5 separate regions of the Homo sapiens genome follow, and regions 1, 3, 4 and 5 are each linked to region 2. Evidence: promoter capture Hi-C in 16 types of primary human blood cells and fetal thymus (Javierre and others, 2016). All regions are on one chromosome and are shown on one strand. The core of a region is centred on a gene start or on the middle of the fragment in contact, and the rest is flanking DNA. Distances in the headings are between cores, read along the strand shown. Region 1 has its middle 35 kb from the start of BBS10. Region 2 holds the start of KRR1 (KRR1 small subunit processome component). Region 3 has its middle 68 kb from the start of NAP1L1. Region 4 overlaps LNCOG (lncRNA osteogenesis associated). Region 5 overlaps NAP1L1 (nucleosome assembly protein 1 like 1).

Region 1 (2,700 bases), core at 123-2,622, 800 kb after region 2:
CTGTAGTCCCAGCTACTTGGGAGGCTGAGGCAAGAGAATGGCGTGAACCCGGGAGGGAGAACTTGCTGTGAGCCGAGATTGTGCCACTGCACTCCAGCCTGGGCGACAGAACGAGACTCCGTCTCAAAAAAAATAAATAAGTAAAAATAAATAAATAATAAGTGAAACAAGATTTTTGGCATTGTGTAATTGCATGGGTTTTTTAAAAATTACTCTTCAACATCCTGATTCTCCAGCAACTTATTCATTCCCAGAAGTGAGGGTGGCATTGAATGAGAGAAGAATCCTGTGTTTCTGACTCATCATTTACCCAGAAGAGAGTGAGCTGACAGAGCTATGTGAAAGGACAAGATAATGTTTACCCTTATTCCTGGACACCGAGGCTCTAAATTCGAATTTCTTTCAGTATACAGTTATAACATTACGTTTGCACAGCCACATGTGAAGATGTTGTGGTGCTCCTTTTTTTAATCTTACATTTTTAACTAATTTACTTACATAACCAAAAATGAGAAGAACAGGGAAGAATCCTGGTCTTAGAGAAGCAAGATGGAAAATTAAACGCGAGGGGATCTCTCTGTCTCTCCCTCTACCACTTATTTCTTAACCTGTTTGCACGTTAATTTCCTTCTCCCAGACTGGCTTCTCCACAAGCTGTAGACCTGCTGCTAGCATCTCAACATCTCTTAACTTATATCCTCTGTGGAAAAAACCAAGAACACCATTAGCATAAGCCTTTCAGTAATGCCGGCGTGAAAAGGAGCGTTCTAACTTGGGAAGGAGGGTGGAATTTTTTATAGGGCTTCAGCAGGCAGGGTCAGCTCAAGTTCACTTTGTTTTAAGAACAAAGATGGTTCCTAGAAAAGGAAGGAATTTTCTTTAGCAATTAGCGGTCACTGTTTGGACAACTTGGATTTTACCAAGAGGAGTGGGAGGAACAGTCCGGTCATGTGTGAGCGGCGGGGGTGGGGAGGAACAGCTACAGTGGACAAGGACATGGAGGCCTACAGTGGAAAATTTTCATTTCTTCAGAGTCTCTTACATCTTACAGTCTCAGGACCTTTGAGAGCCTTCTCCCCACTTCAGTCAATCTGACTTGCTTATCCCTGGACCACTCACTGTGGTCAAGGAGGCAGAGTCAAAGAAGAGACTGTTTCTGGTCAGACCTGAAAGCTAGAACAGGGGGAGGAGCCACTCTTTAAAAAGAGGGAGCAGCGGGCTGGGCGCGGTGGCTCACGCCTGTAATCCCAGCACTTTGGGAGGCCGAGGCGGGAGGATCACAAGGTCAGGAGATCGAGACCATTCTGGCTAACACGGTGAAACCCCGTCTCTACTAAAAATACAAAAAATTCTCCGGGCGTGGTGGCAGGCCCTGTAGTCCCAGCTACTCCGGAGGCTGAGGCAGGAGAATGGTGTGAACCCGGGAGGCGGAGCTTGCAGTGAGCCGAGATCGCGCCACTGCACTCCAGCCTGGGCGACAGAGTGAGACTCAGTCTCAAAAAAAAAAAAAAAGGGAGCAGCCCAGACTTGGCTGATGAGGGCATCGCAGTAACAGGGCAGCCCTCGCCTTCCTCCCCATTTGTGTCTACGAAACCCTTCTTTTCCTCCTTCCAGGTGAAAGGCTCAGTGCTGCCTGTCGGGAGCACTGCTTCGAGGAGACCGATCCAGAGAACTTTCAGCCTAGGGAGTACGGCGCGCAAACCCAGCTGAGGTGAAAGTCTCATTGGGGAGCAGCTCCCAGCACAAACTGCTGAAAGGCTGGCCGCAGCCCTGCTGCCCAGATTTCTTCTTCAGCACTCTCTAACTCCCTAGAGCTTTTAAAATGTCCCCTGTGGTCACTCTGTATACCAGGGAAGACAAACGGGTTTGGCTTCATGCCTGCATTGGCAGTGCTGGGTGCCTCTTCATCCTTCTCTCTCTCCTCTTTTTGGCAGAAAAACCCTTTTCAAATATCCAAGCCCCTTCTTCTCTATAAAAAATAAGACAGATGTGAGCTATGAACATCGTTACTGGTGAAAAAATTAAGATTTAGGAAAGGAAATATCTGTCCTCATCATTTTGCCAGAAGAGCAGAGTAGTTACAGTCATGGACTTTAACTCAAAATCCACAGAATTTGAGTCCTGGCTTCCCACTTACTGATTCCGTGACCTTGGGCAAATACTTAACCTCAGTAAGCCCCAGCTTCTTATTTAGGAAATGGGGAATAACATGTACCTCAAAATTTAGGGGAATAATGCATGTAAAGAATATGCCATTGTGTCTGACATATATTAAAATCCAAAATTACAGTAATTTTTGTGATTATAAAAATGATGGTGATAACATGAAAGTAACTAATTAAATAAAATTATGTATATTAAAAATATAAAAATATGATTTTACCACCATCACCACTCCCAATATTAGCATTTTTAAAATAGAATTTTACAATTAAGACCTCAGATGATCTCACGTGGTGGTCAAGCTGTCACTTCTCTAAAGTGGCCTCAATTGCTCCAGGGCCAGAAAGTAGGAAAATTGGAACACAGGAGCGCTGGGCATGACGTCTCATGCCTGTGATCCCAGCAATTTGGGAGGCTGAGGTGGGCAGATCACTTGAGGTCAGGAGTTCAAGACCAGCCTGGCTAACACGGTGAAACCCTGTCTCTACTAAAAATACAAAAATTAGCCAGGGCGTGGTGGCAGGTGCCTGTAATCCC
Region 2 (2,700 bases), core at 62-2,561:
CTTGAACATGTTAACCAGAAGACATGTACAAAGATGTTTTAGCAGTATTGTTTATAATTGCAAGCAATTGGGAACAATCCAAATGTCCACCGATAGTAAAATGAAAAAATAAATTGGGGTATATTCATACAAGGAAACACCACATAACAGTGAAAAGACTAAAACTACACCCGCAAGTATCACCCTGTTTGAAAAACAAAAAGCTAAATCTAAGAAGACACAGAAAAATGCATACGGTCCACTTTCATGTATATAAAATTAAAAAACAGGCTAAATTAAGCCACTTCATGACTACAAGAAGAGGAACAGAATGCAACACAATTCAGGGTGGTTACGTCTGATACAGGAAAAGAGAATATGATCTGAGAGGTGCACGTAAGGGTTTGAGGGGTATGGTAATGCTCTATTTTACTTAGTCTGAATGCTAGTTTCCCGCATGGTTTTATTAAACTCTATATAAGTTGTATCCCCTGCTATGTACGTTACATAATCATTTAATGAGCAACAACAAAGAAACTTTGAATACTTTCCCAATGCATCTAAATTGAGAGTTCAATGTTTTTAACACTTCCTATAAGCCTGGTTGAACAGATCCCCAGGCTATTTATGACTTCTCTATCATTCACACTGAAGAAAACGGGTAAAACCAGACTACAACGCAGGAGTTAACAATTAAAAGGTAACACAACCTAAACAGTAAGGGCTGTGTCGTCTAATATTTTAGCATCTGACAAACAGGAATTGATAATCTTTCAAAATGTCTTTACTGACAAACTAGAGCTAAGGACATGTCGGATAGCTCCTTTCCCCATACCTCACCCCATTATCAGGGTCCACTCTTGTATATCATGACTACCTATTCCCACCTCACCCTATTCCTCATTCCGTCAGTGACTTTCAGCCACCCGCAGGCTTACAAGGTTCTGCGTCGCCCTAGGCATTTTCTTAATACTCATCCTTTTACAAAAGACGTAATCCGCAACAGCTTCGCTTTGGGGACCCTTTAGCAAAAGCAATGAATTAGGAACACCTGGGTGGCACCATATCGGCCAGCCGTTCCTGTGGGCCCAGCCAAAATCTTATCAGCGATTATTCAGGTACTCAACTACACAGTACAGGCTCCAGGTGGTTTTATAAGTCCACGAGGAACGAAAGAAAAAAACATCGCAACTCAACGTACACAAACCCCAGGCTTCGGTTCCCACATAACATCACCTTGGTTCTCCGGCTTCGGCTTCTGGTTACGAAATTCACTTTTTCCAGCGCCTTTTTCTGGCCGCTCCAGCGAGGGAGACGCCATTTGCAAGCTGCTTCCGGTGGCTCCGGAAATGAAACTGTTCTTAAACCCTACCGGCTAAAACGCCTACACTCAAAATGAGTTCCGCGGAACTCAGACGAGGAGATCTGCGCAGTCTCCGTGCGTACGTGCGTTAAGCCCGCGCTTTTACACAAACCACAGCTTCTCCTACGTGGCCAATGAAGAGCCGGAGACTTTCTCCCAGTATGCCCTGAAACCATGGAGTTTGCGTACTGGGACTTGTAGTTTAGCAGGCGGTATAGGCAAATTGGATACTGTTTTATCCGTAGTTTCCTCGTGGCCTCACGGCCTAACCTGGACCATCGGACAGCGGAGTGCTACCAACCTGTCATTGATGTCATTCATTCTTTCGATAAATATTTATATGTTGGCCAAATATGCGCTAGATGTTGGGAGGAAGTACAAATATGAGAATACAATGTATATTGGGCCTCCACTGCAACAAGTGACAGGAATAGCTACTATTTATTGTGAGACTACTTTGTTTCAGTACTTTATTTACATTATTTCTAATTTTAAAAACAGTGACAAAATTAAACTTTTCAAAGTTGTTTCTGATGGTAATCTTCCCGAGTGTTGGTATTTCTCTAAGTCAGAGGGATGGTAATTCAACATCCTGACGTTTCTGAAGTATTTCAACTAGCCTAAGATTTCTCAAAATCTCTAAACTCCTTTTCTACCCCCAACATTACATAGGGCTAAGATGTGTAGAGAGGTTCATCACTAACTACAAATAACTACACTTTTGGAAGTATAAGAGTTCTTCGACATGCCAAATATAAGATTTTTTTAAATTTTGATTTTATTGCTTGCATTTCTAAAATTTTCTGCAGCAAATAGGGAAAGTCTTTGATAGGTTAAATTCCTTGCATTAGTGAAATACACGTTTGTCTGATAAATCCACTCTCGTGTATCTTATACAATAATTTAGGTTTTCATATATGAGATCCAGGTATGAAACAGATTGTTACATATGGACAGAAGAACCCACGACAGAGGGGTTTTTTGTTTTTATCCTGTGAGTTTTATAAATGACAGGGATTTTATCTCTGTTCTTTTAATTTCCTCAAAAAATGATAAATTCCTAAAATAGAACAGATAGCAGCAGGTGAAAGTTATAAAGTGAGGAGTACACCTCATGAAGCAGGTTTTTATCATTCTTATTTTAAGTAACTCAATCACTAATAAGTGGAAGGCCCGTCTTCAAGTTCAGGCAGTTTGACCTAGCAGCTTCAGGGGGCTACTATTCATTAGGAGCTTCAAATGTGTTAGAGGGCTGATAGGGATTAAGGGGAGGGAATAGTCTAGAAATAATATTTGTGTTAAAGCCCTTTATTTTATAGCAAAATTTTCTACATAGGCTTTTCTTCCCATTTACGTGT
Region 3 (2,700 bases), core at 184-2,683, 640 kb after region 2:
AAAAAAAATTAGCCAGGCATGGTGGCGGGCACCTATAATCCCAGCTACTCAGGAGGCTGAGGCAGGAGAATCGCTTGAACCTGGGAGGCAGAGGGAGGTTGGAGGTTGCAGTGAGCCGAGATTGCACCACTGCACTCCAGCTTGGGCAACAAGAGCGAAACTCTGTCTCAAAAAAAAAAAAGAAAAGAAAAAAAGGAAGAAAGAAAATAGAGTCCTATGTTCCACTTGGTCAGAATATCCATAAGTGAGGCTGAGGTCGCTAGAGAAATTTTTGAAAAGTGCCTTAGGAACGCTAGTAATCAGAGTTTGGGACTTATTGGTGCAGACTGTATAGAGGGACATTTAACACTGAAATTTGATTTTGGGTGAAAAAAGTAATTTTTTTCCCTAAAAACCATAGTCTTGAGTTATTAAAATGTACAAACAGATTTTATTTATTTTATAAGCTTTTCTGACTTTGAAAGTCTTTTCAAATCAGTAAAATATTTTAGTCTCAGCAAAACTATTATATTCTATACTTTGGCTATTAAGTATTAGCAGACAAGCTGCTGGAAAAGTTAAATCTTTAAAAAGTTTGCAATTTGTGCTGCAAATGCTAAACCTATGTTTTTATCTTCCCTATATATACCGATGTTTTTATCCTCCTTCCTGAGAAGGTATGCTGTTTGAACAGACAAAAATACAGATACTGCCTAGCCAACACTAAAAATAGGAACATGTCTGAAATTCACATACTCATATGCCTCCCTGCACTTCCTGTACCCACCTACTGCTTTCTCTAGTTTCTATCCCTGGCTGCGGAACCAGCCCATCCCTTTCCTAAAGAGGCTTCTCTGTTGCTACATATCAATGCAGAAACCATTGACGTGCTTCTGTGTCAGCAATAATGCTCTGTCTTTCCTACCTCATTCAAGGATCCCAGGATTCTTTTTGAACAAGAAAGAAAGGTTTATTAGTCCTCCCCACACTTCAATGCGGCAAGGAGTCAGTATTATTTTGAATGAGGCCCAGAATGAACTCAGCAGATTCATAGAACTGGTCAGAGTGGCAGGTGAATCAAAAGTTGAGTTACAGGCCAGGTGTGGTGGCTCATGCCTGTAATCCCAGCCCTTTGGGAGGCTGAGGTGGGAGGATTGCTTGAGTCCAGGAGTTAGAGACCAGCCTGGGCAACATAGTGAAAACTTGTCTCTGAAACAACAACAACAAAAATTAAAAAATTAGCTGAGCATGGTGGCACTTACCTGTAGTCTTAGCTACTCAGGAGGCTGAGGTGGGAGGATTGCTTGAGCCCAGGAGGTTGAAGCTGCAGTGAGCCATGCTCACACCACTGCAGAGTGAGATCCTGTCTCAAAAAATAAATAAATAAAAGTTGAGTTACAAATTTGTTTCTATTGGTTTTTTTTTTTTTTTAGACGGAGTTTCCCTCTTGTTGCCCAGGCTGGAGTGCAATGGCATGGTCTTGGCTCACCTCAACCTCCGCCTCCCGGGTTCAAGCAATTCTCCTGCCTCAGCCTCCCGAGTAGCTAGGATTACAGGCATGCACCACCATGCCCGGCTAATTGTATATTTTCATTAGAGATGGGGTTTCTCCATGTTGGTCAGGCTGGTCTCCAACTCCCGACCTCAGGTGATGTGCCCGCCTTGGCCTCCCAAAGTGCTGGGATTACAGGCATGAGCCACTGCACCTGGCCTCTATTGCTTCATTTATTTATTTATTTATTTTAATTCAAGAAGAAAAATCAGCCTTATGTCTGCCAGTTTCTATTCTATTTAGCAGATTTCTCTTTGCTTTGTTCTAAATATACATAATTACTTTTTCATTTTCATACTCATTCTGAGAAATCTGAATTAATAATTATTTACTGAGTGCAATATCAGCTAGCTATTGCTGCATAACAAATTTAGCTGGTTAAAACAGCAAGTACTTATTTCACTCATAATTCTGCAGGCTGGTTGTGTAGCTTTTCTCTAGGTTTGCTTTCCTGTTCTTTGCTGGGCTTGCTTATATTGTCTGTGGTCAGCTGGAGATTTGACTGGAAGCTGGATGGTCTAGGATGGCCTTGCTCACATGTCCGGCCGTTGGCAGGTTGTTGGTTAGGAGCTGGCTGGCAGGGACACTTCATACTTTCTCCTTTCATCTTTCAGCATGCCAGTTTGGGCTCCTCCACATGGAGATCTCAGGGTTCTAACCACAGCAAAAGAGAACAAGGCATAATGTGCAAGTCTCTGCTTGCTTCTTATTTGCTAGTCTCATTTTCTAAATCAAGTCACACAGCCAAGCCCAGACGCAAGGTATGGTGAAATAGAATCTACCTCTTGGTGGGAGGAGCTTCAAATTCACATTTTAAAGAGGTATGCTTACAGAGATGGGAAAAAATTATAGTCATTTTTGCAATTCACCACCAGTACATAGTTTGTATGAAGCTTAACATTTTAGAAATATAGACAAAGCATCCGCCATTGTGTGTGTGTATATATATAATATATATATAAATTTATATATATATATATATATGCACTTTTTTTTTTGAGACTGAGTCTCACTCTGTCACCAAGGCTGGAGGGCAGTGGTGTGATTTTGGCTCACTGCAACCTCCACTTCCCAGGTTCCAGCAATTCTCCTGCCTCAGCCTTCTAAGTAACTGGGATTACAGGCACTCACCACCGCGCCCAGTTAATTTTTGTATTTTTAGTAGAGAC
Region 4 (2,700 bases), core at 197-2,696, 780 kb after region 2:
TAAAATGATTATGAAAAGTCCTATAATAATTTTCCTATCATCCTTCCTTTCATCCCTTGTCTTGAATGTGGAGGCATCCCAGGAAAAGGGAACGGTAGTATCAACTGCTCCATGGAGATGGAAAAGCTTTGAGATGGAAGAGTCGGGGGAAATAATGGTATAGAAGCAGTTTACTGTTGTCATCCATAGAAGATGCTATAGGGATACTGGAGATGAGAAATGAAATTGGGTGAGGCTTGAACATGAGTCAAGCTTTGTATTTACCTTGGTAGTGACAGGAAAACACTGGCAGTTTTTAAGGAGTCATATGACATGATCAGGGCTGAGCTTTCAAAAAAATTAACCTGGCAAGATATGGAAATGGGATGGATAGAATGAGAGAGTGATTGAGATGGGACAGGAAAGCAAGAGGTCATCGCAGTAATCCAGGTGAGGGGCTATGAAGTCTGTGATGGAGAATTGGTGGTGGCTGTGGATGGTAGGAAAGACTGTGAAGGAAATTAGGGAGTGGCTCCTACAGGGCTTAGACCTGCAACGATGTGAGACAAGAGAGATTTCTGAGGGTCAAGCCTCGCTGACTGGGGAGATCATAATGCCATTGCAGAAATGGGAAATAGTGGAAGAGGAGCTAGTTGAAGATTGACACATTGTAAACTTGAAGTTCAACTTGATATCTGGATTTGCAACTAGATAGCCGTGTCAGGATAGAGGAAGGACCTAGAGATAAAGGGCAAAGTTGCCTATTTCCATTGCTTAGACTGTCCCTTAGTGGAGATCTCAGAAGGTTAGGGGAGGAGAGAGGGGCTGGGCTGTGCCAGTAGAGACAGAGAACTGGAGAGTAGAGGGAGGCAGATAATGTGGTTCAGGCCAGATACAAAATCTGAAAAGAACTGGGTTTGAAGAATTTTCTGGTTTACCTGGGACTTTTACCATTTTCTCTAGTACTCTCTTGAGCACTAGGCCACCATATTTTTCCCAGGACCTTTCAAGGTTCCCATCCCATGAACTTTTCTCAAAAACAGGAAGGTGTGCACCTGAGAGCCATGTAAATATCCTGAAATATTCTAGATTTGGAGAGACACTTTAGACTTGGCTGACTTGGGCAGCATTTCTTAATCCTTGATGGTCTCAGTTTTGTAGAAAGAAAGAAAGGGAAGGAAGGGAGGGAGGGAGGGATGGAGGAGGAAAGAAGAAAAAGAGGAAGAAGGAGAGAGAAAGAAAGGAAATTAAGAGCCACTTCATAGGGTTTTGTGTGGGTGTGTGTGCACACATGTGTGTGCGTGTGTGTGCAGAGGAGAAAGGAGATAATACATAATAAAGCATCCATACAGTGACTTGTAAATATTAAGCCTTCAACAATTATTAGTTTCCTTTTCCTCTGCCCTGCATGTGTCAATAGCAATTCCCAGTAGAAATGGGAAACTCTCGGTAGACCAGCACCGAGCTAGAGTGTGAGGGTCTGCTTTCCAGCCCTGTGCCAGCTATTGAGTAGGTTATGACCTTGGGCTAGTTCCTCAGCTAGGGCCTTCTGTCTCAGTTTGCACACCACTAAAATAAGAGAGCTGGCCTAGATTAGTGTTTGCTAATTTCTACCACCAAGTAATTTAAAAAAAAAAATAGTATATATTTAAGGTGTACAACATGATGTCTTGACAAACATACATAATGAAATGGTCACTACAGTCAAGAAGCAAATTAGCATATTCATCATCTCACATAGTTACTTTTTTAGTGTGGGTGGCAAAAGTACATAAGGTCTACTTTCAGTGAATTTTCAGTATAAAATACAATTCTATTAACTATAGGATAGTTATGTTATACACTAGATCTCCAGATTTCTTCATCCTACATAACTAACTTTTTACCCTTTGACTTCTGTCTCTTCATCTCCCCACCCCTGTTCTATTCTGTTTCTATGCATTTGAGCTTTGTTTTTCTTTTTAGATTGCACATAAATGAGATCATATAGTACTCTTCTTTCCATGTCTGGCTTATTTCACTTAGCATAACGTCCTCTAGGTTCAACCATGTCACAAATGGCAAGATCTCTCTTTTTTAAGGCTGAATCATATTCCATTGTAGACATGTACCATAAATTCTTTATCTATTCATTCATCAATGGACACTTAGGTTGTTTCCATATCTTGGTTATTGTTTCTAGATCTTGGATATTGTGAATTATGCTGCAATAAATTATGCTGCATAATTATAATGCATAAACATGGGGGTGGTAATTTCATTTCCTTTGGTTATGCACCCATAGATAGATTGCTGGATATATGGTATTTCTATTTTTAGCTTTGAGGAGCCTCTGTTCTGTTTTCCATATTGATTATACTAATTTACATTCCCACCAACCATGTACAAAGGTCTCCTTTTCTCCACACTCTTGCCAAAAATTGCCTCATCTTTTTGATAATAGCCATTTTAAACAGGTGTGAAATGATATTGCACTGTGGTTTTGATTTGTATATCCTTGATGATTAGTGATGTTACCACCAAGGAATGCTTTTATCCTTTCTCATACTTGCTATCTTTTGAAAGAATTTTTTTTAATCAACCAGAAGTTGTTAAGTAACTGATTCATTTCTTATGTGATCCCCAGTGTTACTAAACTGGATTAATATAACTATTGCCCAAAGAAGCTTGCACAGACTTTATATAAGAAAATATGCAACAGCTATTAGAGGCTTAAACTAA
Region 5 (2,700 bases), core at 59-2,558, 550 kb after region 2:
TGGGCCCAGGAATGAGCTGCAGTGAGCCAAGATCATGCCAGTGTACTCCAGCCTGGGCAACACAGCAAGTCCCTGTCTCTTAAACAAAAAAACTATAAAATGTAAGGAAATAATGACTTTTTGAGTACAGATGGTGGTGCCAGGTTGAATAACAGTTCATCTGCATTATCATTCTTACAAAAAGGAAAAATATTTCCTAGGTATAAAAATACAACTGATGCTCTAGGGAGGCCCTGGCCGGGGAAACGAGTTGCATTTGTCGGCTCAGCTGGCAACAGTGGCGGGAGCAGAGCTGGCGGGGCCTGTGCAACTGCCTGGGTTTGTGAAATGGCTGCTGACGTTTCCGATTCCAATAGGGCTGACTGCAAAGGAGACCCAAGGAACAGAGCCAAGTTAGATGCTGATTACCTACTTTGAGTCCTTTATTGTGGAGTCTGTTCATTACCAATAGAGTACTGTGAATATATGCCTGATGTTGCTAAATGTAGACAATGATTAGAGAAGAATTTTCCAAATGAATATGCAAAACTTACTGTGGAAAATTCACCCAAACAAGAAGCTGGAATCTGTCAAGGTCAAGGAACAGCAGGGGAAGAAGAGGAGAAGAAAAAACAGAAGAGAGGTGGAAGGGGTCAAATAAAACAAAAAAACAAAGACGGTACCACAAAAGGTTACTATAGCCAAAATTCCCAGAGCAAAGAAATATGTGACAAGGGTTGTGGCCTTGTAACTTTTGAAATTGATCTTAAATCACACAAAGATTTTTTGCTCAAAAATTCTCCTGTGGTGCCTCAGTAACAGAGGAGGATGAAATTATCATTCAAGGAGACTTTACAGATGACATAATTGAGGTCATTCAGGAAAAACAGACAGAAGTAGATGATGACAGCATCGAAGATCTTGGAGAAGAAGTGAATTTGAAAATTTGTCTGTAGTTAATGGCCTGAACTGACAGTAGATATGGCCAAAGGGAGAGAGGCCTACATATATATATATATATATATATATATATATGTATTCTACAGTAAAACTGTAGACTGCCTTCGTTCTTGGCATTTTCCCTGTTCTGTACAAGGCTGCTTATTTTTTTATTGCCAAAGTCAAATAAACAGGAGAGACTGTCATGCTCATACATGAACAGAATTTAGTCAAATAAAAAATTTTGGTTATTTGGTACTTTTTTTTTTTTTTTTTGAGACGGAGTCTCACACTGTCGCCTGGGCTGGAGCGCAGTGGTGCGATCTCGGCTCACTGCAACCTCGACTTCCCGAGTTCAAGTGATTCTCCTGCCTGAGCCTCCCGAGTAGGTGGGATTAGAGGCACCCGCCTCCACACCCAGCTAATATTTTGTATTTTTAGTAGAGATGGGATTTCACCATGTTGGCCAGGCTGGTCTCGAACTCCTGACCTAGTGATTGGCCCACCTAGGCCTCCCAAAGTGCTGGGATTACAGGCATGAGCCACTGCGCCTGGCCTTTCTCTTTCTCTCTTTTTATTTTTTGAAAAACCCGGTAGACTTTGCGGTGACCATTTTTGTTGATTATTTTACTGATCTAAAGCTGAGTGATTTTTTAAAAGAATTTGAATTTGGCTTCCTCACCAATAATATGTCTCCTTGCTTCTCTGATGTGATAGTTTTGAGATGGGTGAGAATCTAATATATCTGTGGTTGAATTTGCTTTGCTGTTATCAAGTCCACCCTATGGGCACAATAACATACTGTTGGTAGGAGTTGTTGGAGCTATTCTGGAGATTATTTGGTAAAGTATACTAAAAGCCTTAAAACCACGTATGTGCACTGTTTGAACCAGTAAGCCACTTCTTTGAAATTAGAAGACATTAGAAGAAACAATAAGCCTTGCAATAAAACTTATGGATGAAAGTATTCATCACAATATGATTTATAATAAAAAATTGCAAATGTTATAAGTGAACAATTGGAAAATGGTTAAGGAAGTGATGGTGCACTGTGTGGTATGTTTATGTTTAAAGATGTGGTATGCATATGTTTAAAGAATCATATTTTCTAAGATTATTTGGAAACATGTTTGGTAATGTCAAGTGGGGGCACCCCAGATACATTTTAGACATTTAATCATCATCGTTCTGAGAGGAAGGCCATTCAGAGATGCTAGAGGTTCTTATTCTGGATATAAATTACATGAGTAAAATTCTACTAACCAATTAAAAATAATGTACAACCATGTTCAATATACAGTCCTGGAAATAGCAATTATGTCTTTTCACAAGAGAAAATGACAGTTTTAATGCTCCATCAGATGAATTCGAACTTTAAGTCAGGTGCTGCAAATTGGAAATAAGACTTGTGGTGTTTTAAACTGCTGTGGACACTTAAGAAACTTAGAACCCATGAAACCGCTGCTTATTGCCATGCAAATTACAATCTTGAATGACTGTTTTTTAAAAATAAAGTAATAGAAAAACGTGTAATAAAGACGTAAAATTAAAAAATGAAAAAATACAACTGGTTATATAATATTGTACTCCATCATTAAATGCTAACATTTCTGACAAGTCCTAAGATTTTATCATCTTAAAAACATACCAAAATAAAGTTGGTACTAACCGAAATCTCATCTTCTTCATCTGGTTTCCATTCACATTCTTCTTCCGTAGGTTCATAAATTGCATTAATAATTTCAAATCGCTAAAATGATTTAAAAAAAAAAGGCTGTATAA

The links. Contacts are between HindIII fragments. The CHiCAGO score rates a contact against its expected background, and 5 or more counts as called.
Region 1: a contact is called between a fragment that was not itself captured here and the fragment with the promoter of KRR1 in region 2, in 1 of 17 cell types (M0 macrophages). The highest score is 5.7, in M0 macrophages.
Region 3: a fragment that was not itself captured here is called in contact with the fragment with the promoter of KRR1 in region 2 in 5 of 17 cell types (activated CD4 T cells, M2 macrophages, naive CD8 T cells and 2 more); the score reaches 8.6 in activated CD4 T cells.
Region 4: a contact is called between a fragment that was not itself captured here and the fragment with the promoter of KRR1 in region 2, in 1 of 17 cell types (M2 macrophages). The highest score is 7.6, in M2 macrophages.
Region 5: a fragment that was not itself captured here is called in contact with the fragment with the promoter of KRR1 in region 2 in 15 of 17 cell types (total CD4 T cells, naive CD8 T cells, naive CD4 T cells and 12 more); the score reaches 17.7 in total CD4 T cells.

Annotation. Positions count from the first base shown.
Region 1 is chr12:76,311,667-76,314,366 of GRCh38, forward strand. No RefSeq gene overlaps it. Among named protein-coding and RNA genes, the nearest start is that of BBS10, 35 kb to the right of the region's middle. The HindIII fragment of the contact is 7,990 bases long and covers 1-2,700 here.
Region 2 is chr12:75,510,298-75,512,997 of GRCh38, forward strand. KRR1 (KRR1 small subunit processome component) reads right to left here and starts at 1,312. Exons shown (of 10, transcript NM_007043.7): 1 at 1,216-1,312. The coding sequence starts at 1,300. RefSeq lists enhancers at 525-1,069, 1,070-1,613, 1,120-1,279. The HindIII fragment of the contact is 5,214 bases long and covers 1-2,700 here.
Region 3 is chr12:76,151,585-76,154,284 of GRCh38, forward strand. No RefSeq gene overlaps it. Among named protein-coding and RNA genes, the nearest start is that of NAP1L1, 68 kb to the left of the region's middle. The HindIII fragment of the contact is 1,978 bases long and covers 445-2,422 here.
Region 4 is chr12:76,285,972-76,288,671 of GRCh38, forward strand. All of the region lies in intron 1 of LNCOG (lncRNA osteogenesis associated), which reads left to right. Among named protein-coding and RNA genes, the nearest start is that of LNCOG, 27 kb to the left of the region's middle. The HindIII fragment of the contact is 2,393 bases long and covers 251-2,643 here.
Region 5 is chr12:76,057,211-76,059,910 of GRCh38, forward strand. It overlaps NAP1L1 (nucleosome assembly protein 1 like 1), which reads right to left. Exons shown (of 15, transcript NM_004537.7): 6 at 2,588-2,668. It also overlaps the pseudogene DENRP2. Among named protein-coding and RNA genes, the nearest start is that of NAP1L1, 26 kb to the right of the region's middle. The HindIII fragment of the contact is 7,125 bases long and covers 1-2,700 here.